Linked DNA regions of Homo sapiens: all the other regions are linked to region 1. Evidence: promoter capture Hi-C in 16 types of primary human blood cells and fetal thymus (Javierre and others, 2016). All regions are on one chromosome and are shown on one strand. The core of a region is centred on a gene start or on the middle of the fragment in contact, and the rest is flanking DNA. Distances in the headings are between cores, read along the strand shown. Region 1 holds the start of HYOU1 (hypoxia up-regulated 1). Region 2 overlaps CBL (Cbl proto-oncogene). Region 3 overlaps CBL (Cbl proto-oncogene). Region 4 holds the start of CBL (Cbl proto-oncogene). Region 5 holds the start of NHERF4 (NHERF family PDZ scaffold protein 4).

Region 1 (6,310 bases), core at 1,302-3,801:
GGGTTTCGCTGTGTTGGCCGGGCTGGTCTCCAGCTCCTAACCGCGAGTGATCCGCCAGCCTCGGCCTCCCGAGGTGCCGGGATTGCAGACGGAGTCTCGTTCACTCAGTGCTCAATGTTGCCCAGGCTGGAGTGCAGTGGCGTGATCTCGGCTAGCTACAACCTCCACCTCCCAGCCGCCTGCCTTGGCCTCCCAAAGTGCCGAGATTGCAGCCTCTGCCCGGCCGCCACCCCGTCTGGGAAGTGAGGAGCGTCTCTGCCTGGCTGCCCATCGTCTGGGATGTGAGGAGCCCCTCTGCCCGGCTGCCCAGTCTGGGAAGTGAGGAGCGCCTCTTCCCGGCCGCCATCCCGTCTAAGAAGTGAGGAGCGTCTCTGCCCGGCCGCCCATCATCTGAGATGTGGGGAGCGCCTCTGCCCCGCCGTAGCCACCCCGCCAGCCGCCCCGTCCGGGAGGGAGGTGGGGGGCCAGCCCCCGCACGGCCAGCCGCCCCGTCCGGGAGGGAGGTGGGGGGGCGCCTCCGCCCGGCCGCCGCCCCGTCCGGGAGGTGGGGGGCGCCTCTGCCCGGCCGCCCCTTCTGGGAGGTGAGGAGCCCCTCTGCCCGGCCACCACCCCGTCTAGGAGGTGTACCCAACAGCTCATTGAGAACGGGCCATGATGACAATGGTGGTTTTGTGGAATAGAAAAGGGGGAAAGGTGGGGAAAAGATAGAGATCGGATTGTTGCTGTGTCTGTGTGGAAAGAAGTAGACATGGGAGACTTCATTTTGTTCTGTACTAAGAAAAATTCTTCTGCCTTGGGATGCTGTTGATCTATGACCTTACCCCCAACCCTGTGCTCTCTGAAACATGTGCTGTGTCCACTCAGGGTTAAATGGATTAAGGGCGGTGCAAGATGTGCTTTGTTAAACAGATGCTTGAAGGCAGCATGCTCGTTAGGAGTCATCACCACTCCCTAATCTCAAGTACCCAGGGACACAAACACTGCGGAAGGCCGCAGGGTCCTCTGCCTAGGAAAGCCAGAGACCTTTGTTCACTTGTTTATCTGCTGACCTTCCCTCCACTATTGTCCTATGACCCTGCCAAATCCCCCTCTGCCAGAAACACCCAAGAATGATCAATAAAAAAAAAAAAAAAAAAAAAAGGAAGAATAGACTCTCTCTGGGACTGCCAATAATTTTTCCTTCTAAGCATAGACACCGGACCACTCTCCACCTAAGCATCACGAAAAATGTAGAGAAAGGAAGAGCTAAGAGCTCCTTAAACAAGTTCAGGCTTGACACAACCCTGGCCCTGACAGCCAGGGTCTTCAAGCGGGCCTTTCTGTGAAGGGTGGCCAGGCATCAACTTAGTAGGAGAGAAAACAGATGACTTATTTCCATCCACACTTAAGGAAAATGCAGTCTCCAAGGACTGCGTACATTTCTTTTTCGAGAAGGAGTCTCGCTGTTGTCGCCCAGGCTGGAGTGCAGTGGCGCAGTCTGGGCTCACAGCAACCTCTGCCTCCCGGATTCAAGCAATTCTCCTGCCTCAGCCTCGTGAGTAGCTGGGATTACAGGCACCCGCCACCACGCCTGGCTAATTTTTGTAGTTTTGGTAGAGACGGGGTTTCACCATGTTGGCCAGGCTGGTCTCGAACTCCTGACCTCCAGTGATTCGCCCGCCTTGGCCTCCCAAAATGCTGGGATTACAGGCGTGAGCCACCGCGCCCGGGCGACTGCGCACATTTCTATGGAGCTGTAAGTTAAAAGAGAAGGCAGTGAGGTGCTTCTGTCATTCTATGACAGAAACAGCTAAAGAGTAGAGAAATGTTCACAAGATTTAATAGAACAGAAATAGGAGAAGGTGCACACAAGCTCAACCAACTATAGCCTCACAAATAAAAGTGTCTTTTGTGTGTAGTACTTAAGTTTGGAATATTCTTTCTTATACAAATGAGTGGGGCTTAACCTAAGAAATCCTGGCCAGATTCTGCGACGAATGCATCGGTTATCTCTGACCCATCAGCAAACATCTTTTTCTGTGGCTTCAGTTTCCTCAGTAAAACAGAGGGGGTTGCGACGGACTCAGTCCGAGGGACAGCCATTCTCCAACGTCTATCCAAAGCCTAGGGCACCTCAATACTAACCGGCAGGCCAGCGCCCCCTCCGCGGGGCTGCGGACAGGACGCCTGTTATTCCATTCCTCGGCCGGGCTCTACAGGTGACCGGAAGAAGAGCCCCGAGTGCGGGACTGCAGTGCGCCCGACCTGCTCTAGGCGCAGGTCACTCCCGAACCCCGGCAGCAAAGCATCCAGCGCCGGAAAAGGTCCCGCGGTCGCCCCGGGGCCGGCGCTGGGGAGGAAGGAGTGGAGCGCGCTGGCCCCGTGACGTGGTCCAATCCCAGGCCGACGCCGGCTGCTTCTGCCCAACCGGTGGCTGGTCCCCTCCGCCGCCCCATTACAAGGCTGGCAAAGGGAGGGGGCGGGGCCTGGGACGTGGTCCAATGAGTACGCGCGCCGGGGCGGCGGGGGCGGGGCCGGGCGCGCAGCGCAGGGCCGGGCGGCCGAGGCTCCAATGAGCGCGCGCCGCGTCCGGGGCCGGCTGGTGCGCGAGACGCCGCCGAGAGGTTGGTGGCTAATGTAACAGTTTGCAAACCGAGAGGAGTTGTGAAGGGCGCGGGTGGGGGGCGCTGCCGGCCTCGTGGGTACGTTCGTGCCGCGTCTGTCCCAGAGCTGGGGCCGCAGGAGCGGAGGCAAGAGGTAGCGGGGGTGGATGGAGGTGCGGGCCGGCCACCCCTCCTAGGGGAGACAGCGTGCGAGCTCCGGGGGCGGGTCGGGAGCGCAAGGGAGGGCCGCGCGGACGCCGGGCGCTCGGCCTCGCACCGGGGGGCACGCAGCTCGGCCCCCGGTCTGTCCCCACTTGCTGGGGCGGGCCGGGATCCGTTTCCGGGAGTGGGAGCCGCCGCCTTCGTCAGGTGGGGTTTAGGTGAACACCGGGTAACGGCTACCCGCCGGGCGGGGAACCTTACCGCCCCTGGCACTGCGTCTGTGGGCACAGCGGGGCCGGGGAGTGAGCTGGGAAAGGGGAGGGGGCGGGACAACCCGCAGGGATGCCGAGGAGGAGATAGGCCTTTCCTTCATCCTAGCTACCCCCAACGTCATTACCTTTCTCTTCCCGTCCAGGCCCAGCTGGCTTTCCCCGTCAGCGGGGGAGCTCCAGGTGTGGGGAGGTGGTTGAGCCCTGGGCGGGGATCCCTGGCCGCACCCCAGGTGTCTGACAACAGGCACAGTGCTGCGGTGCGCCACTCACTGCCTGTGTGGTGGACAAAAGGCTCGGGTCTCCTTTCTCTTGTCCTGTTAGCTTCTCTGTTTAGGGATGTGGCAAAGCCGAGGACCCATGCTCTTTCACTTGGGCCTTTGTGTGGGCGCTGCTGGGATGATTAGAGAATGGTTTGTACCCATCAGGAGGGAGAAGGGGAGAAGTAGGCTGATCTGCCCTGGGTAAGAATGAAGTAGATATGAATCTTACAGCCTCTCCGTTCTGGGATGTGATTCTGTCTCCTTCACTCCGGGTATCCAGTTTTAAGTGTTTTCTTTCTTCGCCTCCCCCAGGGGCACTATGGCAGACAAAGTTAGGAGGCAGAGGCCGAGGAGGCGAGTCTGTTGGGCCTTGGTGGCTGTGCTCTTGGCAGACCTGTTGGCACTGAGTGGTATGTACCCCAGTAGAGGGAGCAAATGGATAAATGATGACTGAAGGATGCATGATGGGAATTGAGCTTGGGGCTGTTGGCCAGAAGTCTCTTGAGTTGTTAGGTCCAGGCCTTTTTGTCTTTTGCCATCTTCGTTTACCCATGGAAAGTGGTATGCTTTGATTAGAGGGAGTCCCAGGAAGGTGGGCGAAGGGAGAGCTAACTGACAAACCTCTTTTCCCTTCAGATACACTGGCAGTGATGTCTGTGGACCTGGGCAGTGAGTCCATGAAGGTGGCCATTGTCAAACCTGGAGTGCCCATGGAAATTGTCTTGAATAAGTGAGGGTGGCCCCCGTGTTAAGGGTGGGGAACGAGGGAGTCTGGGCTCCAAGTGTGAATGTGTTAGTCATAGTGCCCACAGCAGACTTCGGCATCTGAGTGGTTAAATGTGTGTGAGTGTCGAGGCTTCTGAGTCCTTCTGCTGCAGGCACCTGGGCCCAAAATCTCTTTTCCTCAGGGAATCTCGGAGGAAAACACCGGTGATCGTGACCCTGAAAGAAAATGAAAGATTCTTTGGAGACAGTGCAGCAAGCATGGTGAGCTAGCAGTCCCTCTTCCCAGAGTGGTGGGCAGAGGAGAGGAGATGGCAGCCCCCAGAGTCTGTTTCCTTATCAGTCTCTGTGATGTAAGAGGTAGGTAATGGTGGACTTGGGAGCCTAATACTAGTCTGCTCCTTCTTCACCCCTCAGGCGATTAAGAATCCAAAGGCTACGCTACGTTACTTCCAGCACCTCCTGGGGAAGCAGGCAGATAACCCCCATGTAGCTCTTTACCAGGCCCGCTTCCCGGAGCACGAGCTGACTTTCGACCCACAGAGGCAGACTGTGCACTTTCAGATCAGCTCGTGAGTGCTCTGTTGGGGAAGGTGGTCTCGGCAACGCTGCTGGGCTCCTCATTGGTGTGTGTTCCTGATTGTCCTGCCTTAATGCCTGGCTTTCCTTGGCTCCAACTACCTTCCTTCCCCTCAGGCAGCTGCAGTTCTCACCTGAGGAAGTGTTGGGCATGGTTCTCAATTATTCTCGTTCTCTAGCTGAAGATTTTGCAGGTGAGTGGTCAAGGTGGGGCCCTTAGGGCCAGGCTCCCCAGGATCTAGGGCAGTGATTCTCCAACAGGGGCAAGTTTGCCTCCCAGGGAACATTTAGCAACATCTGAAGATAGATTTTGGTTGTCACATCTGAGGGGTGCACCTGCTATCTAGTGGGTAGAGGCCGGGGATGCTGCTCAACATCCTACAGTGCACAGGACAGCCCCACAACACAGAATTACCTAGTCCAAAATGTCATTAGTGACCAGATTAGAAGCCCTCATCTAAGGTATGGAGCCGGCGGGACCCTTTTCTGTTGTCATCTGTAGAGCAGCCCATCAAGGATGCAGTGATCACCGTGCCAGTCTTCTTCAACCAGGCCGAGCGCCGAGCTGTGCTGCAGGCTGCTCGTATGGCTGGCCTCAAAGTGCTGCAGCTCATCAATGACAACACCGCCACTGCCCTCAGCTATGGTGTCTTCCGCCGGAAAGATATTAACACCACTGCCCAGGTGAGCCAGGGGAGCCTTGACCAGACATGCAGGGTGACTGAATCTAAGGATGGAGGCCACTTGGTCCCTTTTGCATCTGGTTTGCATGGCTGGGCTGACCCTTGGCAAAATGCACCAATAGCCTCCTCCCAGCCCCTGTTGGAGCTGTTTAGTTTTGTGTTAAGAGTCAGACAGCCCATTGGAAGCAGGTGGGTGGGCAGGCAGGCCCCCTGGAGTTTGAGAAGGTTCCTGTGACAGTTGCCTTGATATCTCTACAGAATATCATGTTCTATGACATGGGCTCAGGCAGCACCGTATGCACCATTGTGACCTACCAGATGGTGAAGACTAAGGAAGCTGGGATGCAGCCACAGCTGCAGATCCGGGGAGTAGGGTAAGTGGATACTTGGCAGGGAGGGCTGCTTGTGAAGACCCTCAAGTCAGGGGTTTCTTCTTGGAGGAGACACACTGCTTTGCTTTCCTGCATGCTGCAGGAATGGTCTCCTGATTGAGGCATCAGTCATTGTAGGGGACCACTCACAAAGAGTAAGGGGAAGCTGAGGCTCAGGGGAGGACAGTTTGGGAAAACTGGAAGACATGGAACTTTCAAAATGTATTCTAAGGAAATCCATGGAGCCGCAGGCAATATGTAGGGTGTCAGATTCAATCATGTTTTTGTTCTCTTGTCATTTCCAGTTAAATAATTTACCATTCTTGTTGTCTTACCTCTTTTTAAATTTTTTTTTATGGCCTGTGACATAGCCCTCAGGAGATCCTGAGAACATGTGCCCTGTTGTCTTATTTCTTGAAATCATCTTTTTCCGTCTTCACCATTACCACCCAGCCCAAGTTACCATCACCTCTTATTTGCAGAATTAAAAACATCTCCCTGTTCCTAGTGACGTCTCCTTTCAGTTCTTTCTTCATATTGCAGCCAGAGGGTTCTTCTTAAAATCCAACCTAATCATTACCTGTTTCTTTAAAAACCTGTCGCTGGCTCCATAACTTTCCCTGTGCCTGTCTCAACCCTGCCTTCTGCAGCCTGTCTGAGCCCTGAGCCCTCTCGCTT
Region 2 (6,310 bases), core at 334-2,833, 250 kb before region 1:
CCGGAGCCAGGCGCCTGCTCATGTTGAAGTGCGCTGTTCACACCCGCTCCGGAGAGCACCCCAGCAGCATCCAGAAGCAGCTGCAGTGTTGCTGCCACCACCCTCCTGTCTGCCTCTTCAAAGTCTCCTGTGACATTTTTTCTTTGGTCAGAAGCCAGGAACTGGTGTCATTCCTTAAAAGATACGTGCCGGGGCCAGGTGTGGTGGCTCACGCCTGTAATCCCAGCACTTTGGGAGGCCGAGGCGGGCGGATCACAAAGTCAGGACGAGACCATCCTGGCTAACACGGTGAAACCCTGTCTCTACTAAAAATACAAAAAAAAATTAGCTAGGCGTAGTGGTTGGCACCTATAGTCCCAGCTACTCGGAAGGCTGAAGCAGGAGAATGGTATGAATCCAGGAGGTGGAGCTTGCAGTGAGCCGAGACCGTGCCACTGCACTCCAGCCTGGGCAACACAGCGAGACTCCGTCTCGAGGAAAAAAAAAGAAAAGATACGTGCCTGCGGTGAGGAAGCTGGGCGCTGTTTTCGAGTTCAGGTGAATTAGCCTCAATCCCCCGTGTTCACTTGGCTCCCATAGCCCTCTTGATGGATCACGTAAAACTGAAAGGCAGCGGGGAGCAGACAAAGATGAGGTCTACACTGTCCTTCATGGGGATTAAAGCTATGGTTATATTAGCACCAAACTTCTACAAACCAAGCTCAGGGCCCCAACCCTAGAAGGGCCCAAATGAGAGAATGGTACTTAGGGATGGAAAACGGGCCTGGCTAGAGCTTCGGGTGTGTGTGTCTGTCTGTGTGTATGCATACATATGTGTGTATATATGGTTTTGTCAGGTGTGTAAATTTGCAAATTGTTTCCTTTATATATGTATGTATATATATATATGAAAATATATATATATATGAAAAATAAAGCTTAATTGTCCCAGAAATCATACATTGCTTTTTATTCATCATGGGTACCACAGGAACCTGGGGGCCTGTGAAACTACAACCAAAAGGCACACAAAACCGTTTCCAGTTGGCAGCAGAGATCAGGGGTTACCTCTGCTTCTGAGCAAATGGCTCAAGTTCTACCAGAGCAGACAGTCACCCTACTTTTCAGCAGCAAAACTGCCCTGATGACGCAGCACGAAGGGCCTGGCAGGCTGTTAGCAGGAGCTATGTCCCCTTCCTATGCTTTCCTGCCACTTGGAACTGCCCTCCAGACAGCAGCTCAGGCTCACCGCCATGAGGAAGGGGGCCTTGGCATTTGGTCCTACGGCAACTCGAGTATTGCCTCCCAACCCCCTGAATGAGCAAGAACTCAAGTCTGCTACAACAAAAGAAACTTTATTTAAAAATATTTTTTTACAGACATGGGTGCTTGAAAAAGCTCTTTAGTTAACTAACTGTGTATGGAAATGAAAAAAAATTAATAAATAACATTAGTAAAACAGACTTCTAAACATTAATACACTGGCAAAATAAAATGGACTTAAAATGAAAATGAATCTTAAAGCTCTGCTATTCTCTGTAAGAATATTTACCTTCTGTTTTTCTTATTCTTTACAGGTGAGAATGATTAAATACTGCTAATATAAATTTTTTATATTAATGACACATTTTTAAAATAGTCCACGAAAATCTCACCTATGTGTTTGTTTTGTTTTCTTCTTAACACTGATATACAAATTGGGACTCTTCATTCTGGAGAAAGCATCAGGTTCTCTCCAGCACTCCCAGGCTAAGAATTTCAAAATCTTGAATAAGGAGGACTTTAAAATTTCTGTCTCCCAATTCTTTATTAGTTAAAGGCAGGGGAAAACTGAGGAAAGGGTAAAAGATAAGTAAGATGTCATTATATAGAAAAACTTTTGCTAAAGCTCACTATAGTCACATTACTGAGGACAGGCTTCTGGTCCCATGTTCCTTGCTGCCCTTCCCTGGGGAAACCAGGCCCTGCAGAGGGCACTAGCTGCTTAATGCTTTAAGTCTGAAGCCTTCAAATGAAAGGCCAGCCACATCTGATGGGGGCTGGGGGGTGGGGGCAGGAGGTCTAGACCAGTTCAGGATCCAGCAAAAAGAAAAGACAAAGCCACCAACCTCCCCTTCTCAGGAGAGTCCATCCTATACTCCTCGACACAACTAGGTAATTAATGTCATCAGAAGGCTAGGACACTTGGAATGGTCCAGAGTTTACCTGGGAATTGTGAAACATTCTGTCTTTTGCAGGAGACAAGGCATGCAACCTGATAACTAAGCTTGTGATTGGAACCAACCAAATGATCCCAGGGTACAATGCTTCTCTCCTCCACTGAAGTCTCACAGCAGGGGAAAGGGACTCCAGACACACTGCACCTGCATGTCACCTCTCCAGTCACAGAGAGCATTCTTTCCTGTCTCCTAGACACTAAGGACTAATGAAACTCAAGGTAGAGGAGCTCAGACTCTGGTATTTCCATATTAAGTCCTAAAATGCAGCCTGGGATACAGTGCTGCCTTAGAAAGGCACAAAACATTTGGCTTTTTTTTTTTTTCAGTGTGCTAAAAATTGTTTTGTTTTGAGTAAAGGAAAAAGATATATAAGGTTAAAAATCCCAAGTCACCACAGCCAGAAAACAGACGTAGGAGGTGCCTCATAGCTGCCATGCCCCTACCACATGTGTCAGCAGGAAGTCAGGCTTTTCTTTCAAGGCCAAGACACTAGAACAGTGCTGAGCAGGGTAGGTCAGGAGGCATTTACTCTCATGGGCATTGCGTTGCAGGCTCACTCACCCAGACAGCAGGAGAAACAGGCCATGGAAGACAACACGTGGTCTACAGACTCATAAGTAGTTCTCTGCCTCTCCAGTTTTAAGATGGCCATAAGCATGGCCACCCTCACCCACAAGAAGGTCAGAGGTAGGTAGAGAGGAGGGAGCTGACACACAGGCACCCAGGACACCCTGCTTCAGGGCTCAGCATGGAGGTGGCACAAGGCCTGAGGAGTTGCACATAGCACGCATTGAGCAATACTCCTCTCTGGCCTCCTGTCTGATTTAGGGGCAGAAGGAGAATGTAGGAGAGGCAATGTTGGTGGGGAGGGGGCGGGGCCTGACATTCATTTTTGGGACTGAATCAGGCAATCAGGACTCTGCTGATTTCTTCAGCTGCCAAATCAGGAGATCTGAGGTTGGCTTTTGGGCTTTGCTCTGTACAAACACAGGGAGTGGTCGGCTGCATTTTTCTCAAGCTCTGTACCCAGGAAGGGGCGGCAAGAGCACCACACAGCTTAGTCTGTCTGTCAACAGCCGGCCCTTCCACCCGTGCTCCCCACCTGACTCGCCATGGACATGCGGGGCTTGCTCTCCCCATCCCTATTTCCCCATCTCCTACTCTTTTGCTACTTTCCAGAACCAAGAAATACTGGTATTTCCCACTGGAACCAACCCAGATTTCCTGGGACACAGTGAAGGCACATGGCACTGCTGTCCCTCTGCTGCTTAACTCAGGAGCCTAGTCTACAACATCAAAGGCAAAGTCTGATGACCCACCCTTCCTCCCTTGATGGACATCTTTGGATTATTAGGTAACTTCTGTGTGTATCAAATGACTCTAGTAGTTTAAAAAACTTTTAAGTAAGGCAGTATGAAATACCTTACAACTCAGGACAGGCTCTGAGATGAGAGAAATATAAGATCAAAAGATTTAGGCAAGCAAAAGCATAGTTTTAAAAAAAAACAGAAAAGGAAAGCTTTTATATAGGACTAAAATGAAAGCAATTGCCAGAGAAGACACAGGTATACTGTCTAAAGAGCTCTCGGTAAAAACTCTATCCTAAACTGGAATCTATATTTAATTTCTATCCTGGCAACTGCTCCAATATTATATATTCTTACTGGCTCTGGCAAAGTAGTTTCTGAGGTGCCTAGGAAGGCTTGCCTGAGAACATTACTGCAGAGCGGCCCTCACACAGGAAGGAGCGAGAGGGTGAGGAGGAGAGTGGAGGAGACAGGCCACAAGCCCAGAGAATGAACATTTTCAAGCACTCAAACCTGAAGAGGACCCAGAAGTCCATGGATAGTGGCTACAGTGGAACCCGTTATTAGATTCTGCTCTCTAAATAAACACGGAAGAAGGCAAAAGACCTGAGGCTGAATGGAGGCTAAGGAAGGCTACCCAGGAACAGGCTAGCTCTGGAACAGGACAGGCTGGCCCACAAGAGGGAGGGAAGAAATCTTGGATGCGAAGACTGACAAAGGGAAGAAAAACAGGAAATAAAGAAGACAATGACCAGAATTAAGTTAAACCTAAGAATTTCTATGATGTCCCAGACAAACTCCTGTGCCTTCCTGTCCACTAAGCAAAAAGGCAGGAGTAGTGGCTTTACTTCTTGAGTAGAAGCCTTTTTAGGGTGTCTGTGGAGTCTCTGCTCACTTCTCTGAGAAGCTCCCTGTCTCCAGCTGAAGGAGCCTGCCACATCTCTGCTCTCCCTGGCAAGGCCAACTGCTCAGAGATAGATACTTGATCAATGTGCTGGGCTGAGTGTAGTTTTTTTTAAGAATACGAAGTATGGGCCGGGCGCGGTGGCTCACGCCTGTAATCTTAGCACTTTGGGAGGCCGAGGTGGGTGGATCATGAGGGTCAGGAGTTCAAGACCAGCCTAGCCAAGACGGTGAAACCCTGTCTCTACTAAAAATATGAACATTAGCTGGGCATGGTGGCAGGCGCCTGTAATCCCAGCTACTCGGGAGGTTGAGGCAGAGAACTGCTTGAACCTGGGAGGCAGAGGTTGTGGTGAGTTGAGACTGCACCACTGCACTCCAGCCTGGGCGACACAGCGAGACTCCATCTCAAAAAAAAAAAAAATTAAGTATGGGAAATTGAGAATTTGTTCATGGTGATCCCCAGAGTTGGAAGGTGGTGTAGACTTGAGGACTAGAGTGCCTATTTGGGGGCCACATATACCATAAGCAGACTGTGAAGCGGGAGAAAGGACTAGGTGCAAAGCTCTGCAGTTCCAGCTCCACCCAAGAACCAAAGGCACTTCCCGTCCTGGGTTCTGCGAAATACCCTGCATCCTTACCACAACTCCACTCCCTCCTTTATTCCGCTTGAACATTTCTGTTTCTTGGATCCAAAGAATCCCTAAGCAGTCAAAAATATAACCTTGACCGTCCTTCACTATCCACCACCCTCTAGGCATTAAGCCGTTCTATGTATTTCCAACAAAACACTGCTCATGGAGACTGAGTTCAAAGGAGTGATAGTAATAGTTTATGCTGAGTTACAGTATTTTAGATTGAGCTTCTAAAGCTCTAAGGTCTGGTAGAATGATGTGTGGACACTAAGCTTTAGAATCCCTAAACTCCTTGCTCTGGGAGGGAGGTAAAGGCTGACAATTAGGGGACTGATGGAGTTCAATCTGTATTAATGTCTGGCTCTTGGAAGACCCAACAACTGACTAAAGGATCTTTGGGTCCTGAGACCCGAAGACAGGGCCCACACCTCCAGCCCTTCTAAAACATAGTTAGCCACAACGGTTGTTGAAAGACTGGAAAACCAATTCCAAATAGTACAGGACATGGTGACAGGTCCCATAAGGGTGATACGAAAATCCTCCCAACAAGGGGGATTAGGGACGTAGCAGCTCAGGAAAAAGTTCAAGGAAGGCACTAGATTGGAAAGGGGAGTGTGGGCAGATGCTTTGCTTAAACATTTAATGCCCTACTGTGCAACTCTGAGCCAACTTACCTTTCAACTCACCAAACAGATTCTAATTATGTTGGAACAAATTCCAACATAAAAACAGTCGGTATCCATGACACTTACACCAAGGAATCTCCCAGGCATTATCAAAGCTACAGGAGACAACAGGGGATAATGGGAGAATCTTGGCCTGTTATTAACCAGGATAGCTCTATGAGGAAAGGTAAGTCTACATGGAAGAGCTGTGAATAAAAATTGCACAATCTTACTGGGAAGAGCTATTTTAAGGTCAAACGCAGAGGCTATGACAGTCCAAGTACAATCCCCCAAACATTAGTAAACTACTATGTGGCGCCAAGGGAAGGACACATACCTGACATTTCTGGCACATGGTCATCACTCATAAACATTTGCTGGATGAACAAACAAACTGTTAGAGCCAGACCAATAGTCAGAAAACTATTTTTCAATGAACAGTGGTCATTCCAGAGTCAGAAAGGCCAACGGCAAGAAGAGGGACTTATAGTTTGAGAAGGTCTATAATCTTCTGACTTTAATGACGTGAGGTAGGAGAATATTCTGCTTTATCACCATTGCTGAACACCTACAAAAAGAACTAGATCTTAAAGGGAATATAT
Region 3 (6,310 bases), core at 2,820-5,319, 230 kb before region 1:
TATTTTGTCATGGCAGCCTGAGCAGATCAACACAGCGTCCATTTCATGAAGCTAGGAAAACAGCAAATTAAACTTAAAGAAAGCTGGAAGAATAAAGAGCGCAGAGCAATGAAACAGATGGCAGATATCCAAAATTACTTCCTTGAAAATATTAATAAAATTGACAGGCCCCAGCAAAACAGATCTAGGTACACATATGCAGAAAAAGGAAAAGAAGGAAATACTCTAAAACATAAAATATAATCATTTCTACATGGTGCAGAGATTTTTATTTTCTTTTTTACACTTTTCTGGGTTTTCTCAATTTTCTGCAAGTAAGCTTTTTACAAGTAACAACTCCACTGTACAAAATATAGCTTTAGCAGACTTACCTGGCAGCCAGAGAATAAATGGCATTGGCAGATGAGGAAGGTTTGATTTTGGGGTGGTCACACTCTGGACCTACTAATGGGCTGCTATTCATACTCTGGAAAGTAAAGAAAAGTGTTGAAAAACAACTTTCTTACCACAGCTGAGCCTCTGCTCTTATTGAACCTTTTCAAAATAACAATAACAGATACAAACCTAACTCTCAATGCCATGCCCAGGGGTTATCACATCTGACCAAACGCTTAGGGGCCTTAAGGCTCCGAAGAACCTTCAAATGTAAAGTTTAGAGAGGTGGAGATCTAGAAAGAGCCAGGGAAATGAACTTTTTGGTTTAATTCTAAAAAGATTTGAGTAAATTGGCTATCTACACAAATACCATTAGTATCTTAAATAATCTATATCCAAACGCAAAATGGTCATTCTATACTGATGCTGCCAGAAAGTCAAACCTAATCCACACTCACTAATTAGGCTATCCACCCCACAGGTACCACTTGAGCATTACCCTTTCTCTGCAACCAAGAGATGCCATTCACTTAGTGCCACAACACTTCTCAACTTCACTCTTCCCATTCTGCCTCCTTGGATTTCTGACTGCCTACTTGCTGATGCTTCCATCAACTGCTCATTTCAAATGCAACAGTCAGCCAGGTAAAAGTTTCGTTTTTACGCGCATGCAGTGCACGTGTGGTACTTACCTTTTTTTCCACCCACTGACTGCTTTTCAAGCCTTAACAAGTCTTTATTTCATGCTCTCGAAAGGCTTCGACCTAATCATCTGGCTGCCCACTCTGCTCATAAACAATGATTCTCTCTCTTGCTCATTTAGTACTGGCTATATTAAACCCCTTTGTTATTCTTCAGTCTCTCCCAAACTCACTTGCTTTTTCCTTCATCCTGGAATAATCTCCCCTGGGATCAGCATGGCACATCCTCCTACTGCTACAGGTTTCTGCTCAGAATTGTACTCTATAACTTCACATACCTCCCACTCCTATGCCAGCTTTCTCTATACCCTTCTTTGGGCTATTTTTCTCCATAGCACTTGTGACTGTGAACATACTATGTTATTCAATTAACATGTTTATATTCCATCTTCCTCCCATTAGAATATAAACTTTGTGAGGGCAAGACTTTTTGTTAAGTGCATAAATGAACAAAACATCAAATATTCCTCTCCCACCTCTCAGTTCTGGACCCTTTCTTGCATATTTAGACAAAGGACCAATAACCTACCCCCTTCAAATGCTCTTCATTTCCTACCATACAAATTAAAATTCTTTTGGGAGAGGGTATTCAACTCTCTCTAATCTAGTGTGATGTTCCTTTCCAGTTCTTTCTCCTACTGACAAAATTTCTGCTCTACTTAAAATAACCTAATCATCATTCCACAATACACCTTAGGCATTTCTGTCATTGTGGCTGTTATCAATCTGAAAACCGTATCCACTTTCCAAAGAAATACTTCAGATCTCAGATGCCACTCCTTCTATAAAGTTCTCATGATTGCCCTATCTGGGAATAACCTCTTATTTCTCTAAAACTTAAGTGTTTTCTAGTTAGATTACAAATGGCATTTATGAAAGGACATTTACTGCAATATTTACAAACTGCCTCATCTGGTCTGTGAATATACACATTTTTTTTTTGAGACAAAGTTTCACTCTTGTTGCCCAGGCTGGAGTGCAATCACCTGATCTCAGCTCACTGCAACCTCTGCCTCCAGGTTCAAATGAATCTCCTGCCTCAGCCTCCTGAGTAGCTGGAATTACAGACACCCACCACCAGGCCCAGTTAATTTTTTGTATTTTTAGTAGAGACGGGGTTTCATCATGTTAGCCAGGGTGGTCTCAAACTCCTGACCTCAGGTGATCCACCCGCCTCGGCCTCCTAAAGTGCTGTGATTGCAGGTGTGAGCCACCACGCCCAGCCATATTTCTTGAGGGTAGGAATTATGTTATAGCATCTCTGAATTCCATATAAAACTTATCACAAAATTTCAACCCATAAACTTCTATCCACACATATTTCTTTTTCTTTCTTCTTTTTTTTCAAGACAGGGTCTTACTCTATTGCCTAGGCTGGAGTGCAGTGGCGCCATCATGGCTCACTGAAAGCTTGGCCTCCTGGGCCCAAGCAATATTCCCACCTCAGCCTCCCGAGTAGCTGGAATTACAGGCAAGTGCCACCACGCCCAGCTAATTTTTGTAATTTTTGTAGAGACAGGGTTTCACTACGTCCCCCAGGCTGGTCTCGAAATCCTCGGCTCAAGCGATCCACCCACCTTGGCCTCCCAAATTGCTGGGATTACAGACATGAGCCACTGTGCCTGGCCCACACATATTTCTTAACAGGTTAGATAGTTTCAAAATTAAGACTCACCATGGAGGTATCCAGACTGAACGTGCTTCCGAGCCTAGGCACATCTGGTCTGGGCTCCATTTGTGAGGGCAATGAAAATGGAAGTGAGTGCCGGTTGGTTAATTCTCTTCCTGTCCAGGGATCACTGGAACTTGGGGCAGATACTGGTACTTTGGGGATTGGCCGGGGCAGCCATGAGTCTCCAAGGCGGCTAGAGGGGACAGGGGGCAGTTTGTCTCTGGAGGGACAGTCGCCTGGTGTACAAGGCAAGGGGCGTCTTTGAGGTCGGGATTCTGCTCCAACAGAATATGGCCGGTCTGGAGGCGGTGGTGGTGGAAGATCTCGAAGTGTGGGAGGTACTGGCAATGGTTTGTCTTTATGAAGGGAGCCAGAAGCAGCCTGTGGAAGCAGGGTGAAAGCAAATCAGTAAAAACCCACTAGTACACAGCAAAGAATCCAAAAACTGCAGTAATGGAAAATGCTTTACCTTAGAAGCAGTTCCAAGAGCAGAAGCACTTGAGGGAACACATACTCGCTGCGGCAGAAGGTCAAGTCGTGGTGGCACCGGGGGAAGGGAAGCTTGTGGGGCCATGGAGAATGGAGAAGGCGGCCGTTCCACCTAGGGTACATAAAAAATTTAACAGATTACTTTCGTTTGGGGAAATGGCATCTTTCAACTCTCCTAAAGCTGTGGATGGCAAATACCATGGGAACACTTAAACTACAAATGGGCCAGACCTAGGTTTGAGGTCGCACACACCCTCTTAAAAAACTTCCAGAGACTCTAGCACTTCCTGAATAATTTTTGTGTCACCATAAGAGGGCACTCTCAATCACAGAAACACCATACCCATGGCAAGCTACAGGTAATCTATCTAGAAAGGACAGGGCTACAAAAAGTTTCCTAGTTTACAACTTTAAAAATTACAACAGTTTTCTACCCCCTCATCTTTGGAGAAAGAAAAAAATCTTTTCAAGATTAAAAATAGGAATCCATATAAAAAGTAAGGGGCAGGCCATGCACAGTGGCCCACACCTGTAATACTAACATTTTGGGAGGCAGGAGTTCGAGACCAGTATGGGCAACATAATGAGACCCCATCTCTACAAAAAATAAAATAAAAAATTAGCTGGGCCATGGTGGCACACAGCTATTTGGGAGGCTAAAACAGGAAGACTGCTTGAGCCTAGGAGTTTGAGACTGCAGTGAACCATAATCTAGCCACTGTACTCCAGCCTGGGCAACAGAGCAAGAGCCTGTCTCGACAAAAATAAAATAAAAAAAAAGGATGGCAGTGGGGCGGGGGGTGCAGATATTAACCTCTTAACAAAGTACCTGGGAAAACAATGTTTAAGGGACATAATAAAGAAAGAGATCGATGACGGTGAATTCTCTATGGGTTATTAAGGTAAGAAAGAAGATGAGAGTCGGTACAGTGGCTCACACCTGTAATCCTGCATTTGGGGAGGCAGGAGGATTGCTTGAGGCCAGGAGTTCAAGACCAGCCTTGTCAACATAGTGAGATCCCTCTAAAAAATTTTAACTAAAAATTTTTTTAAGGTGAATTTGTAAAGAAAAATGATCAAGAATATCACTAAAAAGCATCTTGAGTCCTTCCAAAGAAATAAATTATTTCAATTCAATAATTAAGGCCAGGCGTGGTGGCTCACGCCTGTAATCGCAGCACTTTGGGAGGCTGAGGCGGGTGGATCACGAGGTCAGGAGATCGAGACCATCTTGGCTAACACGGTGAAACCCCGTCTCTACTAAAAATACAAAAAATTAGCCAGGTGTGGTGGCGGGCGCCTGTAGTCCCAGCTATTCAGGAGGCTGAGGCAGGAGAATGGCATGAACCCGGGAGGCGGAGCTTGCAGTGAGCCGAGATAGCGCCACTGCACTCCAGCCTGGGCAAAAGAGCAAGACTCCATCTCAAAAAAAAAAAAAAAAAAAAAAAAAAAAAAGAAAGAATTAAAAAGGATTAATATTTTCTGTCAATTTGAGCTCTAAAAAATGAGGTACCAAATTAGAAGAAAGAACACATATATAACCTTTTCCATTTCCCTGCCTATAGCAGGCTTAGGAATAGCTGATAAGCTTGTCAAAGTAAGCTGTCAAGAGATACACAGTAATTCATTAAAAAAAAAATGCTACTCTGCATTTAAATTCCCCAACAGCAAAGCAACACTGACAGAAAAACAGCCATATTTAGTCATGTTATTAGTGCTGGGTGGTGGATGACAGAAAAGCTCTCATCTTTAACTCTTTGCTTTATCCACATGCTTAAGATAACGGGTTCCCAATTAGCTGACAATGCAGCATGAGCAGCTAAACAGCTCAATGACAAAAGTCAAAGTTACTAGTCAAGCCTCCTCTCACTTCATCATAATTATTTTGTCAGTAGCTATATCCTGCTGATTTTTCCCTAAAAGATTCTCATACCTGTATATTTCATTTCATTCTACTTACCAACCCCAGACCTTACTTATTTATGGGAGACAGGGTCTTGCTCTGTAGCCCAGGCTGGACTGCAGTGGCACAAACATGGTGCACTGCAGCCTTGACCTCCTGGGCTCAAGCCATCCTCCTGCCTCAGCCTCTCAAGTAGCTGGGACAAGCTGTGCGCCACCACATGTGGCTTTTTTTTTTTTGGGGCGCGGGGAAGGCACGGGTAGACGGGGTCTTGTCATGTTGCCCAGGGTGGACTCAAACCTCTGGGCTAAAGTGATCCTCCTTGCCTTGGCCTCCCAAAGGGCTGGCATTACAGGCGTGAGCCACCGCGGGTGGCCGTGATTTATTAAAACAACCTAGTGAACTTCCCAACTTGTAGTTTATCTCACCACATCCTTCTGCTTACCACTATCAGCTTAGCCATTCTTAAACACTCACCAACTCAAAAACCACCAGTAACTCCCAATTTGCCCTGTTACAAAATCTCACCCTCCTGCCCAGCTTTCACAAGTCTTTCTAATCTGGTCTCTGCAACCAAAGAAAGGTATTTCCCACAACTCCCTAACAAGCATCAACGCTGCTCTATTCAGGCTCATCTCCTCAGTGTTTCCTGCACATTCTAATGATTATTTCGACTTCCGTATCATTCTTTAAATCCTTTCCCCATTCTGGAAGGCCCTCTCTGCCGATCATCAATCTTTCTCTCATTCCTTAGGCACAGAGGGTTGAACTAATCATATTTTTACATTCATGTCTCAACATCATAATGGATCCTTGCAATAGTCTTTTTTTTTTTTTTTGAGATGGAGTCTCACTCTTGTTGCCCAGGCTGGAGTGAAATAGTGCGATCTCAGCTCGCTGCAACCTCTGCCTCCCAGGTTCAAGCCATTCTCTGGCCTCAGCCTCCCAAGTAACTGGGATTATAGGCATGCGCCACCATGCCTGGCTAATTTTCGTATTTTTAGTAGAGACAGGGTTTCACCACACTGGCCAGGCTGGTATGGAACTTCTGATCTCAGGTGATCTGCCCGCTTCGGCCTCCCAAAGTGCTGGGATTACACGCATGAGCCACCGCACCCGGCCGCAATATTCTTTTATCATAGCATATAAGGCTCCAGAAAAGGTGGAACC
Region 4 (6,310 bases), core at 1,872-4,371, 150 kb before region 1:
TTTTAGTAGAGGCAGCATTTCACCATGTTGGCAGAGCTGGTCTGGAGCTCCTGACCTCAAGTGAGCCGCCCACCTCGGCCTCCCAAAGTGCTGGGATTACAAGCGTGAGCCACGGGGCCCGGCCCAGAAATTTTGTTAAAAAGAATTAAATGTGTGGGACATCTGTGGATTTGACAGTAGGTTCTTCACCACTTATAGCACATGAAGTCAAGGTGTGGTGACACATTTAAGACTTTCAACAATAAAAATAAAGTGAAAAAAGAGGACACCTTATGCTCAAAACATCAAGGGTAAAAGAGATGGTGCAATCTAGTAACATCACAGAGGTATTCAGAAAATCTGGAAAGCAGTATAAACGTATCAGACTAACACATTAGAAAGTACTACGTTTTCAGAGCAACTAGAAATACGTGATAAGAGGGGAACAGACAGTATTAAAATCAACTTCCGAGGCAAGTAATACAAAAATAAAACATCCCTCTCCCTACACTGGAAGGGAAAAGCTAGAAGCCTACTTTCCGTGAAACTATCAAACCTGAAAAGCAATTTGAGTCTAAACTTTGAGTCCTCTTTATTCTTCCCAAATAATTAAACATTCTGCAGAATAAATCAAAATTCAATACACATACTTTAAATAGATGAAGGAGTAAGACTTAAGGGAGGATTTTATTTGGGCTACCTTGTAGAATAGGACTATCTACAACTTACTCTGTATTTATAGAAACACTTTAATAAGAATACAGAATACTCTTATTCTTTAAGAATACAGGGCCAGGCCCAGTGGCTCACACCTGTAATCCCAGCACTTTGGGAGGCCGTGGCGCATGGATCACCTGAGGTCAGGAGTTCGAGACGAGCCTGGTCAACATGATGAAACCCCGTCTCTACTAAAAATACAAAAAATTAGCTGGGCGTGGTGGCGCGCACCTGTAATCCCAGCTACTCGGGAGGCTGAGGCACGAGAATGTCTTGAACCCAGGAGGCGGAGGTTGCAGTGAGTCGAGATCGCACCATGCACTCCAGCCTGGGTAACAAGAGCGAAAAACTCCGTCTCAAAAAAAAAAAAAGAATACAGAATACAGAAACTCTTTAGTAAACAGATTATTCTTAAGCAGAGGCCACTAATCAACACAATTTTGATTGTACTGCACCCACATGTCTGATACGAGACACTCATTAGAAAAGTATTTTTTCTATGCCAGAGTAAAATTTGTAGTCCTTAACGATAAATCCCTAAAAAGCAAACTAACAAACTTTAGCATTTGAATATCTTCGATGTGTTTTTTTTAAAGGAGTCGACACATTTAAAGTTTCCTTTACACACCTAAACTTTCTGTAAGGATTTTATTATAATTTCTAACAATAAAATTAGTACTACACCACCAATATAATCAACACACGAATACTTGTGTCATTAATTACAATACCAATTATTTAACATGAGAAAAGCCAGCCCTAAAAAGGTGGCTATGAAACCACTGGCATGCACTACTGGAGTGTTAATTCACACACAGGACTTATTAAGCATTTAAATTGCACATTACATTGGCTAAGTGCTTCATAATCATTTTATTAGCGGTTTCTAGTCCAAAGCAACCCATGAAGAACTTTACAGAAGAGGAACCGAGGCCCAGGGAGGAACCAAAGAAAACCAAATTTTACCCTGGAGGAAATAACACCATTCTCTTAAAACGTGCCAGATACTTCTAATCACTTTTCATACGCAATATGAATTTTGTCAAAGTAATTAATTAAAGAATATGAAAAATACCAAGAAAACGTATTGAATTCTGACAAAGCGTCCGACTGCTTAAACAGTTAAATACTTGAGACTGACTACATTTCATCATATAGACACAACTATAAGGAAGTAAAATTCTCCCAAATGACAAACTTAGTGGCTAAATATAAAGGAGTTATTTTTGTTCGCACTTGCAAAAAGCAAACAAACAAAAAAGCGTAATCAAAGAAGCTCAACGAACAAGTTTAAAGTCAGGACCTGTAATAAGGAGTCAGAACCGTTACCAGAAAAAAAGAACCCAGCTCAAGCGATGTAGTAGGGAGGAAGTTATTAAGAAGTCAGAATCTGCTGCTGCTTAACAGGCTCAGCCAGTCCATCTTTCAGAAGATAATAGTTCTAACCAGAACTTGTGGTTTAATCAGTGCATATCTCAGCACCAGCAATGGATCACATCCAGTGTTTCTGAGGGTAACAAAAAACTTGAGCCGGCGCTAGATGGGGAGGAAAGTTCTTTCCTTGCCTCACTTAAACATCAATATGTCTTTTATCTTCGTGTTACATCTTAATGAGAAAGGACTATACTCTCACCCAGAGCACAGCTTCCCTGAGAGCTGTCCTGACCCCAGCCAGGTTCCTCAGTCAGAGCCCATGAACCTAATTCCCTAGTCAGATCTCACCCAGCCAAGAGCCCCAGCCGGTACATCACTCTTCCTCACCCCCTCCCTGCTAACCTCCCAGGCCAATTCCGTGACCTACATCCCTACACCCTGCACAGAGCCCCAAACTCCGCACCCCTCATTGTACTTCCGCCCCACTGACTTCCCAGTTAACCTTCGCCCCAGCCCCCACTCCATCTTTGTCTGGCTACCCCAAACGCGGCACCCCAGCGTTCCCCGACTCCCAACGGCAGCCCCTCCCCCACGCCGCCCCCCACCCTCCCGGCCTCGTCCCTGCCCCCACGCCCCCGGCCGGTCACCCCGGCTCCGCGCCTCCCCGGCTTCACCAGACCCGTCCCCTCCCCCGCTTCCTCCGTCCGCTCGTTCCCCTCCCCGCGGCCCTCCGCCCACGCCCACCCTGCAACAGCGGGCGCTCAGCCGGCCTTTCACCTTGTCCATGAGCTTCCAGCACTTCTCCACCATCTTCTTGTCCACCGTCCCCGGCGGGTGGGGGCTGAGGTGGTGGTGGTGGTGGTGGTGCGGCTGGAAGGCGTCCTTCATGAGCCCAATCAGGCCACCCGAACCCGAGCCCCCGGAGCCGCTGCCGCCCCCGGCCCCAGAGCTCTTCTTCACGTTGCCGGCCATGGCCTGGGCAGGGTCGGAGCCCAGGCGGGTCCGCCGGCTCGGCTCGACTGCGAGCGAGGGAGAGAAGCAGGGCGTGAAGGAGGGGCCTCTCCCGGCCGCCGCCGCCGCCGCCGCCGCCGCCGCCGCCGGCTATCCGGGCGGAGGGAGGAGCGGCCGTGGGGAGGGGAGTGGGCGGCGCCGGGAGTGCGCGGGACGCGCCCCTTCAGAGCGCGCGAGCCCGGGGCGGGCGGGGCGCGTCCCGGAGGCGGACCGGCTTACTGGTAAGCTCGGGGAAGCGGCCGGCCGCGGCCGGACTGGGCAGCGACGATCCCCGGGCCACCGGCTTCGAGCAGCTCGCGTGCCCACAGCTCCCGGAAAGCCGCGGCCAGGTTTCTGTGCCCGTCTTCCCCGCCCCTACGCCGGGGCGGGGCGGGGCCAGGCTGGGGCGGGGTCGGCGGAACCTTTGGGCCTGCGCCCTCTGCTGGAGAAACGGGGAAAGGAGCGGCGGGGGGTTGGGGAGTAGGTCCAAGGTGGAGTCTGCGCAGTAGCCAGAAACCAAGACTTCCATGCTCCTTGTGGGCGGGAGGTTGGCGCTTCTGGGGTGGGTCATGGGAATGTTTAAATTAAGACAGGTGGCGATGGAATGGAAGAGTCCTGATGTCAAGTCTTTCCCCACCCCTGACAAATGAGGAAATCGAGCTTAGAGTTATTTGTTTATTTACACTGTGGGAGGATGGTGGGAGAAAAAGGAAAGTTATTTCTCCACCCCTTATTATTTTCAATTCTTCATTAAGACACGACCAAGGACAGGAATATGAATGCTGCGGCCCATTCCAGCCGGATTAGGCCCCAGAAAGCCTTGAGACACTCAAGCCAGGACCTCTTCTTCCAGGCCCTTTGACCTCTTGAAAAGAAATCACTTCCTTTTTTTATTTTTTATTTTTATTTTTTTGGCTTGTGAAGACTAGTTACGTTTCTGGGAATTGAATCTCAAACATGTATTTAAGATTCTCCTACTCAGAGCATTGCACCACAGGTCGGCGCCGCCAGCATGAGGGCCCCCTCAGAAGCTGACCTGCTGCTGGCTCCGCCCGAGGGGGTTCTCTCTCCCGCCCAGGGAACAGAAATGCTGTTCCTGGTCACTTCCACTTCTCAGTCAATTACACTTCTCTAATGTAAAAGTTCCGTTGGAAGAACTTTGAAAATAGGAACTTCCCTTCCAAAGAGGGAAGTGCCCTGCCCTAATTTACTAATTCTGAGCCTCAGTTTTGGGAGTTTGCAGACCCAGGTGTGTCAGTATCAGTTCCGCCTTCGATCCCCCTCCAGGCTCTTCCACAAAGCCCTTGACAGATTAGGGAGTTAAATTTATCCGGTGCTCCTGTAAAGGGGAAAATATCTTTGAATGCAGGGACCATTCAGACAGGCATCCTGGGTTTGCAATTTAATCGCCTTTATCTAGAATTGATTTTGGAGTCAACATTATAATTTACTATCAGAAGAATTTCCTTTTATCATTTTCCATCCAGGAAGAGAAGAATCTACAAAGGGAAAATCTAGGCAAAGCTCCATCCCTTAGTGCCAACACCTAGTTGCAGGTCCTCCGTTTCTTTTCCCTGGACTATTGAATATTGAAACCTTTTCCTGTGCCTTCAATTCATCCTGCCACCATAGGCTTCCTAAAGTATAGTTCAGACAGCATCGCAAAAAAACTTTAAACACCTCCCATTGCCTCGGGAATAAAATTGACAAGTTGCTCTAACTCCAAGCTAAACAACCTTGTAGTTTTATACTACTCCCTGGTACACATGTCTTATGCTAGCTGACTCACCAAGTCATCAAATACAATTATTTCTTTTTTATTTATTTATTTATTTTATTTTATTTTGAGACAGAGTCTGTCACCCAGGCTGGAGTGCAGTGGCACAATCTTGGCTCACTGCAACTTCTGCCCCCCGAGTAGCTGGGATTACAAGTGCCCGCCACCACACCTGACTAATTTTTGTATTTTTAGTAAAGATGAGATTTCACCATGTTGGCCAAGCTGGTCTTCAACTCCTGACCTGAGGGGATCTGCCCTCCTCAGCCTCCCAAAGTGCTGAGATCATGGGTGTGAGCCACCGCACCTGGCCAATTCTTTCTTTTCTCATCACCGTTACTCAGACTATTCCCTTATTCCATCTGCCTGAAGTATGCTTTAAAATCCAATCCATTCGGCCCAGCACAGTGGCTCACACCTGTAATCCCAGCACTTTGTGAGGCCGAGGGAGGCGGATCACCTCAGGTCAGGAGTTGGAGACCAGCTTGGCCAACATGGTGAAATCTTGTCTTTACTAAAAATAAAAAAATGAGGCCGGGCGTGGTGGCTCACGCCTGTAATCCCAGCACTTTGGGAGGCCGAGGCAGGTGGGACACGAGGTCAGGAGATCGAGACCATCCTTGGCCAACATGGTGAGACCCCATCTCTACTAAAAATACAAAAAAAATAGCTGGGTGTGGTGGCGCACGCCTGTAATCCCAGCTACTCAGGAGGCTGAGGCAGGAGAATCGCTTGAACCCAGGAGCCAGAAGTTGCAGTGAGCCCAGATTGTGCCACTGCACTCTAGGCTGAGCGACAAGAGTGAGACTCTGTCTCAAAAACATAAATAAACAAATAAATAAATAAAGTTAATAAGAAAAGGAAGATTACCCTTTTTTTTACCTTTTTTTTTTCTTTGAAACAGAGTCTCGCTCTGTCACCCAGGCTGGAGTACAGTGGTGCAATCTTGGCTCACTGCAACCTCCACTTCGGGTTCAAGCCATTCTCCTGCCTCAGCCTCCCGAGTAGCTGAGACCATGCCCAGCTAATTTTTTGTATTTTAATAGAGACAGGGTTTCACCGTGTTGCTCAGGCTGATCTCAAACTCCTGAGCTCAGGCAATCCACCCACCTCGGCCTCCCAAAGTGCTAGGACTATAGGCGTGAGCCACCGTGCCCTGCCACAATTTTTATTTCGCTTGCTTTAGAAAATGTACAAGAGAGGGGGTTGGACTGTTGATCACAATGTCATTCCCATTCTGGATTATGCTAGAGTTGGTTCATCCTGCATCACATCGTGTAACATGTAGCCTTTTTCTTATCCCACTTCACCTTCACCCCAAACCACATCCTCATTCTGCACCTGAAAGTCCATTGACTGGGCCGGGCACAGTGGCTCACGCCTGTAATCCCAACACTTTGGGAGGCCGAGGCGGGCGGATCAACTGAGGTCAGGGGTTTGAGACCAACCTGACCAACGTGGCGAAACCCCGTC
Region 5 (6,310 bases), core at 1,364-3,863, 130 kb before region 1:
CTTTCTCCAGGTGCAGGCAGCGGGGCTTGGTGGGCAGTGCCCAGCCCTCTGCCAGGGGTGCAGCCAGGGGCAATCCCAGCTGGCGACACTGTTCTTCCACCTCTGGCCCTGCCACCAGCAAGGTCACCTGCTGTCCACTCTGCCAAAGCTGTGGGGACCCAGCAGGGCATCAGTATAACACCTGGGCAGGGAGAGAAGAGGTATGCTCCCCCCACAGCCCCTCCTCCCAGGCACTAAGTGGAGCCTGGCACAAACTGTAGAGGGGGAGGATGGTGATAAAGGTAGGAGACCAGATAAGGAGGTTAGGCGCATGGGGAAGGAGGCGTCTTCCCGAGGTGGGGCCCAGGCCCGGATTGGGGGAGGAGAGTGGGAGACAGGCAGTCACACCTTCCTGGTGAGTTGGTTGTGAGTGAACTTCTCCACACTGACCCCATTCACTTCCAGCAGCCGGGCCCCGGGGGGCACCCCTGCCCGCTCAGCTGCTCCTCCAGTACTTAGCACCAACCAGAAAGGACCCTGATTGCCTAGAAATTAAAAAAAAAAGCAAGGTCCAGTCTGTTTCCTGCCTGCCCTGAACAGGGGCTGAGATCCCTCATCCTTGCCGCCCCCTCGCACCCTCTGGGCTCACCATGGGTGACACTGAAGCCAAAACCACCCTCATCTTTCACTATGTGGCACAGCCGGGGCCGGACCCCTGGGCCTAGGGTGGGACAGAGGTGGGCATCTTCTCCCAGCTGAGCTCGGGCCACGTCATGTGCATGCCGTGCCAATACTGTCAGCAACACCCGAGGGCTGCTGGCCCGGATGCGGCGTACCACCTGGACAGAGGGCACGTGGGCGTGGGTTTGGTCTAGACCCTCTTGCCAACCCCCAGGACCTCCCTGGAATCCACATTTTTTTGCCAAGGGAATCGGCTTTTTTTCTTTTTCTTTTTTTTTTTTTTTTTTGAGATGGAGTTTTGCTCTTGTCGCCCAGGTTGGAGTGCAATGGTGCGATCTCAGCTCACCGCAACCTCCGCCTCCCATGTTCAAGTGATTCTCCTGCCTCAGCCCTCCCGAGTAGCTGGGATTACAGGCGCCTGCCACCACGCCCAGCTAATTTCTGTATTTTTAGTAGAGACAGGGTCTTGCCATGTTGGCCAGGCTGGTCTTGAACTCCTGACCTTGGGTGATCCACCTGCCTTGGCCTCCCAAAGTGCTGGGATTACAGGCGTGAGCCACTGCGCCCAGCGGGAATCGGCTTTCTAGATGCTTTCCCTACCCCTCTGACTTGGGCACTTCTAAATCCTGGGGTGTGGGGGAGTGAGGCTTGTGCCCTGCTGCCATACTGCCCAGGGGACTGAGCAACCCGCTTCTCTTTCTGAGGTGCTAGCATGCTCTCCTGGACCACAGCCTTACCACCGCATAGTCTTCGTGTTCCACAACATCATTGTTCACCGCCAGGATCCTGTCTCCTTCCTGAAGACCCTGGCGCTGGGCAGAGGTGCCTGGGTCCACCCTGCACACCACATGCCCAGCCCTGCCCAGCTCCTGCTGCAGGTGGAAGCCAAAACTCTTGCCCTCCTCTTTGCTCAGTAAACAGAAGCGAGGCCGCTCCAGGCTCCAGGGATCTGGAGGGTGAGGTGGGCAGCAGAAAAGGGGGAGGAGAGGGCACAGCCCAAGTACAGGTTCGCCGTGTGCCTGGCAGACCCTGTGTCCTGATAGGGTGCTGGGCAGTTTCTGCCTGGTTGGGTGTTGGGTGGTGGGGTTCGTGGGCAGAGGGACTGGGACAGGAGAAAACACCCGGCCCCTCCTATCTCTACTCCCAACCAAGGCTGTTATCAGAGGGAGACCGAGTGAGTGGTTACCAAGGAGATCGGAGGCCGTGTGGAGCCGTGGTGCCTCCAGGGATAGGGAATGGTTGCCAGGGGGTGAGGGAGTTACCATAGGGGTCGTGGTCTTCGGCCAGGGAGAGGACAGGATTATCAATGCCCAGCTTTGGGTTAAACTTAAACTTCCTGCAAGGAGGCAGGGGAAGCAGGTACAAGCTGGCAGCTGGACTTGGGTCCCAGGATCTCCTTTAGGTGCTAATGGCAGTGAAGCGCTTCGCTGCCTCCAATTATTTCCTCCCCTTGCCCCAACCCTCGTGGCACTTACAGAGTTAACGAGGCTGTGTCCTGCAGATCTACTGGGCAAAGAAGTGGGTGAGAGGAGGAGAGTCACATTCTTCTCCCCAGATGTGCCTCTTCCATTGGCATAAACTAAAAGGACTCAGGGAAACCCCCAAACTCAGGGCATGCCCCCTCCTTTCTGCTCCAAAGGGGTCTTCTCTTCTCACTGCCATACACACAGGACTATTGTGCGGTCCCCTCCCTTTCTCTCCCCCCAAGTCCTTGGCACATAAATCTGAGCATATCAGTACAGGGTGTGGACCAGGAAGACAGACATATCAACTCATTACTTTTCTCCTGACTTGTTTACCTGCCTCAGGGCTCCAAGCCCCAAAATCAAGTGTGCCCTGGTCCCAAAGCTTCAGCCTCCAAGTCGGCCCCCTGCCTGTCCCAAAGTCCCCTGCAGAGGATTTCTCCTGGCCTCCTACCTGCGGCTTTCTCCATAGCTGGATCAGCAACCCAGTGCCCGGGGTAGGGACAAGGTTCATCACAGCCACTGATCCTCCCACCCATCCCCTCCCAGGTCCCGCCTCCTTGAAGACGCTGTGGAAGCAGTGGGGTAATGGTTAACGGGAGTGAGAGTCTTTTTTTTTTTTTTTTTTTTTTTTTTTTTTTGAGACCGAGTTTAGCTCTTGTTGCCCAGGCTGGAGTGCAATGGCATGATCTTGGCTCATCATAACCTCTGCCTCCCAGGTTCAAGCAATTCTCCTGCCTCAGCCTCCCGAGTAGCTGGGATTACAGGCATGCACCACCACACCTGGCTAATTTTGTATTTTTAGTAGAGATGGGGTTTCTCCATATTAGTCAGGCTGGTCTCAAACTCCCCACCTCAGGTGATCTGCCCTCATCGGCCTCCCAAAGTGCTGGGATTACAGGCGTCAGCCACCGTGCCCCGCTGAGAGTCTTATCCTCTGGAAAACTGTGTGGGTTCCTCCTGAATCTATCCCTGGGCCCCAACTTTTTCTGGAGACCCTGAATCTGACCCAGTTGCCCCTCTGTGCAGAGAAAGGCAGATTGCTGGTCACTAACTCCAAGCCTGGGGGGTAAGTGTGAAAAGGGTGATAATTCTATGGCCCATAGTATGGTTTGGCTGTGTCCCTACCCAAATCTCATCTTGAATTGCAGCTCCCATAACTCCCTCGTGTCATGGGAGGTACCCGGTGGGAGGTAATTAAATCACAGGGGCAGGTTTTCCCGTGCTGTTTTCATGATAGTGAATAAGTCTCATGAGATTTGATGGTTTTATAAAGGGGAGTTCCCCGGCACACACTCTCTTGCCTGCTGCTATGTAAGATGTGACTTTGCTCCTCATTTGCCTTCTGCCACGATTGTGAGGCCTCCCCAGCTATGTGGAACTGTGAGTCAATTAAACCTCTTTCGTTTATAAATTTTTTTTTTGACAGAGTTTCACTCTTGTTCTCCAGGCTGGAGTGCAGTGGCACTATCTCGGCTCACGGCAACCTCCACCTCCTGGGTTCAAGCAATACTCTTGCTTCAGCCTCTCGAGTAGCTGGGATTACAAGCATGTGCCATCACACCCAGCTAATTTTGTATTTTTAGTAGAGACGAGGTCTATCCATGTCGGTCAGGCTGGTCTCAAACTCCTGACCTCAGGTGATCCGCTCACCTCGGCCTCCCAAAGTGCTGGGATTACGGGCGTGAGTCACCATGCCCAGCCTCCTTTATAAATTACTTACCCTGTCTTGGGTATGTCTTTATTAGCAGCGTGAGACTGGACTAATACAGCCCAGCATGGCCAACCCCCATGCCAATATCTTGTTCATGGGCCCTTCCAGCCTCCACTGCCTCTGAACCTAGTGCCCAAGAACCACTTGCAATAGATCATGGTTGGTAGTTTAACCAGAAAGACCAAGAACAGTGCCCTTTCTTGGAAGCACCAGGCAGTAAAGAAGAGGCCACAATTGGTAGAAGGCACACGGCTTTTTAATAGCAGCAAGTCAGGTGCATCTGCCTCGAGGGGCTACCAAGCCATCATACCATTGTGGCAAAGGGGGCATGAGGATGAGGAGAAAGCACCAATGTGAGGGCATCCTCGGTGTCCACAGGTGAGCATAAGGCAGGAGGGGAAGCTTCCAACACATCTGGATGGCGACACCCCTGGCATGGCAGACATAAGATGTGAGCCCCTTGGTGACACAGTCAGAGGCTCTTTGAGAGGAGGGGGAGGCAAGGTTGGTAGTGGTGCTTCAGGGCACTCTGGCCATCCAAATGCCACATGCTTTGGTCCTTCTAGCTGAATGGAGAGGAGGCATGTTCCATCTCCAAGCCCGAAGCATTGATTCACCATCTTTAACTTGGAGATTCCAGACTCAGTCCTGGTCAAACATGCCCTAGGAGGGCAACTGGCTCAGCTATGCCCATTCCTCTGCCTCCAGACCTGAAGGAATCTTTCTAGAGGGAGCAGTGCAAGCCAGGAGGCCACAGAGGGAAAAGGTTTAGGGCCAGTGGTCACATAGCTAGGTGCCTGCCGCCAGTGTCTCAGCTTCCAGAGCTTCCCAGCTGCTCCAGGAGGGCCCTGACCTCGCCCTCCACTCGCAGCAGCTGGGCCTTGCGCCAAGGATTAAGGGTGGCACCCCGGCTATCTTCCAGATCCCGCAGTAGGAGCTCAAGGTGTCGCTGAACCCGGGCCCGATCCCAGCTATTGAGGTTCCGCTGGACTTCACTGAGGATCACTGACCAGTATTCTGACACCGCCGTCCCCTCTGTCAGTGACACCACCACCCGGGCACCACCTTCAGCAGCACCCCCCAAGTCTCGCAAGACCTGGCGGCCCTCTGAGCTCAGCTCATTGAAGTAGAGGCTGGCAGGAGAGAGAAAGTCGATGCCATTCAGTAGAGCTCTGAGAAGGAGGGCCCGAGGGTAGATGGATGGAAAGTCAGGGGGCCTCACAACTCATCTCCTGGCTGCAGAGTGCGATCAGGTAACTGCAATGAGCCAGAGGTGGAGGCTGCTGGCCAGTGGGAGGCAGGGACTAATACTAAAATTCTTTTTTTTTTTTGTTTTTGTTTTTGTTTTTGTTTTTGTTTTTTTTGAGATGGAGTCTTGCTCTGTCACCCAGGCTGGAGTGCAGTGGCATGATCTCGGCTTACTGCAACCTCCACCTGCCGGGTTCAGGTGATTCTCCTGCCTCAGCCTCCCAAGTAGCTGGGATTACAGGTGCGCACCACCACACCCAGATAATTTTTGTATTTTTAGTAGAAACGGGGTTTCACCATGTTGGCCAGACTGGTCTTGAACTCCTGACCTCAGGTGATGTGCCCGCCTTGGCCCCCCGAAGTGCTGGGATTACAGACGTGAGCCACCACAGCCGACCCTGATACTAGAATTCAGTGGGACCAGAGACAGTAGGGCTTTAGGAGAAATGGTGGTAGGGAATTGGTGCAGTTTAAGCGCCAGTCACAGAGGGGGTGGGTTGGCTCAGAGCTAGGTTGACAAGGATCAGTCAGAAACCAGGAATAAAGGACAGGCACCAGGCCCAGGCCCAGAAGCACTCCCTAGGATTGGAGGAGCACAGTTGAGAGAGGGAAGTAGTCTGAAGGGCTGGGGGCAATGGGACCAGGGACAGGACTCACTGTAGCAGTTCCAGGGAAGGGTGCTCCCGGGCAGCTCTGGCCAGGGCCAGGGCCGCTGTGTCACCAGCACCGTTGTACGCCACGTTCAGCTCCTGCAGCTGCCGGTTGCGGTCCAGCTGGGCAGCCAGCAGCTCCAGGCCTTCGTCCCCAAGGCCCGTGTGCAGCAGGGACAGGTGCGTCACTGAGGTGTTTCCTGCCAGCCCCTCCATTAGCACGGCAACACCTGCCGCCGTCAGCGGGTTGTTGGACAGCCTACAGCCACGTGCAACCCAAGGTTATGAGGGCTCATTGAGAGGAGGGGGAGGCAAGGTTGGGGGTGGTACTGGCAGCCTTAATGGGGCAGCCCTGTGCTGGGTGTCAGGACTTGGGCCAAAGAGGGCCCTGCATGGGGCAAGAGGAACCTGGACATAGAAATGCAGGCCCAGGAGAAAGGCTGGAGCAATAGGGGGTGTGGCGCCTGGCAGAGGAGTCAGAGTAGGGGAGCTGGCCTTTCCTTCCCTCTTCCCCTGACTCCCTTCTTATCTATTCCCTTCCTTTTCACCATTTCCGTTTCCCTTTTTCTGCCTTT

The links. The method cuts DNA at HindIII sites, captures the fragments that hold promoters and counts their contacts. A CHiCAGO score of 5 or more calls a contact.
Region 2: a fragment that was not itself captured here is called in contact with the fragment with the promoter of HYOU1 in region 1 in 2 of 17 cell types (total CD4 T cells and fetal thymus); the score reaches 6.0 in total CD4 T cells.
Region 3: a fragment that was not itself captured here is called in contact with the fragment with the promoter of HYOU1 in region 1 in 2 of 17 cell types (non-activated CD4 T cells and total CD4 T cells); the score reaches 5.3 in non-activated CD4 T cells.
Region 4: the fragment with the promoter of CBL here is called in contact with the fragment with the promoter of HYOU1 in region 1 in 2 of 17 cell types (neutrophils and total CD4 T cells); the score reaches 7.1 in neutrophils.
Region 5: the fragment with the promoter of NHERF4 here is called in contact with the fragment with the promoter of HYOU1 in region 1 in 4 of 17 cell types (total CD4 T cells, neutrophils, naive CD8 T cells and 1 more); the score reaches 7.3 in total CD4 T cells.

What each region holds. Positions count from the first base shown.
Region 1 is chr11:119,053,446-119,059,755 of GRCh38, reverse strand. HYOU1 (hypoxia up-regulated 1) reads left to right here and starts at 2,551. Exons shown (of 26, transcript NM_006389.5): 1 at 2,551-2,736; 2 at 3,589-3,686; 3 at 3,913-4,006; 4 at 4,185-4,263; 5 at 4,417-4,571; 6 at 4,696-4,772; 7 at 5,081-5,262; 8 at 5,520-5,635. The coding sequence starts at 3,596. RefSeq lists enhancers at 2,044-2,093, 2,453-2,952, 2,953-3,453 and silencers at 2,324-2,603, 2,694-2,973. The HindIII fragment of the contact is 24,437 bases long and covers 1-6,310 here.
Region 2 is chr11:119,303,153-119,309,462 of GRCh38, reverse strand. CBL (Cbl proto-oncogene) reads right to left here. Exons shown (of 16, transcript NM_005188.4): 16 at 1,314-6,310. MCAM (melanoma cell adhesion molecule) reads left to right here. Exons shown (of 16, transcript NM_006500.3): 16 at 1-934. Among named protein-coding and RNA genes, the nearest start is that of MIR6756, 6.7 kb to the left of the region's middle. RefSeq lists an enhancer at 2,230-2,975. The HindIII fragment of the contact is 1,328 bases long and covers 920-2,247 here.
Region 3 is chr11:119,282,008-119,288,317 of GRCh38, reverse strand. It overlaps CBL (Cbl proto-oncogene), which reads right to left. Exons shown (of 16, transcript NM_005188.4): 10 at 3,218-3,349; 11 at 2,752-3,129; 12 at 372-466. Among named protein-coding and RNA genes, the nearest start is that of MIR6756, 28 kb to the left of the region's middle. The HindIII fragment of the contact is 1,516 bases long and covers 3,312-4,827 here.
Region 4 is chr11:119,203,150-119,209,459 of GRCh38, reverse strand. It overlaps CBL (Cbl proto-oncogene), which reads right to left and starts at 3,121. Exons shown (of 16, transcript NM_005188.4): 1 at 2,848-3,121. The coding sequence starts at 3,042. RefSeq lists silencers at 2,604-2,663, 2,854-3,043, 3,114-3,503, 3,544-3,613. The HindIII fragment of the contact is 20,442 bases long and covers 1-6,310 here.
Region 5 is chr11:119,181,778-119,188,087 of GRCh38, reverse strand. It overlaps NHERF4 (NHERF family PDZ scaffold protein 4), which reads right to left and starts at 2,613. Exons shown (of 11, transcript NM_001168468.2): 1 at 2,578-2,613; 2 at 2,136-2,163; 3 at 1,923-1,996; 4 at 1,398-1,609; 5 at 629-818; 6 at 388-524; 7 at 1-148. The coding sequence starts at 2,593. It overlaps NLRX1 (NLR family member X1), which reads right to left. Exons shown (of 10, transcript NM_001282144.2): 9 at 5,743-5,994; 10 at 4,072-4,970. The coding sequence ends at 4,649. The HindIII fragment of the contact is 1,731 bases long and covers 2,511-4,241 here.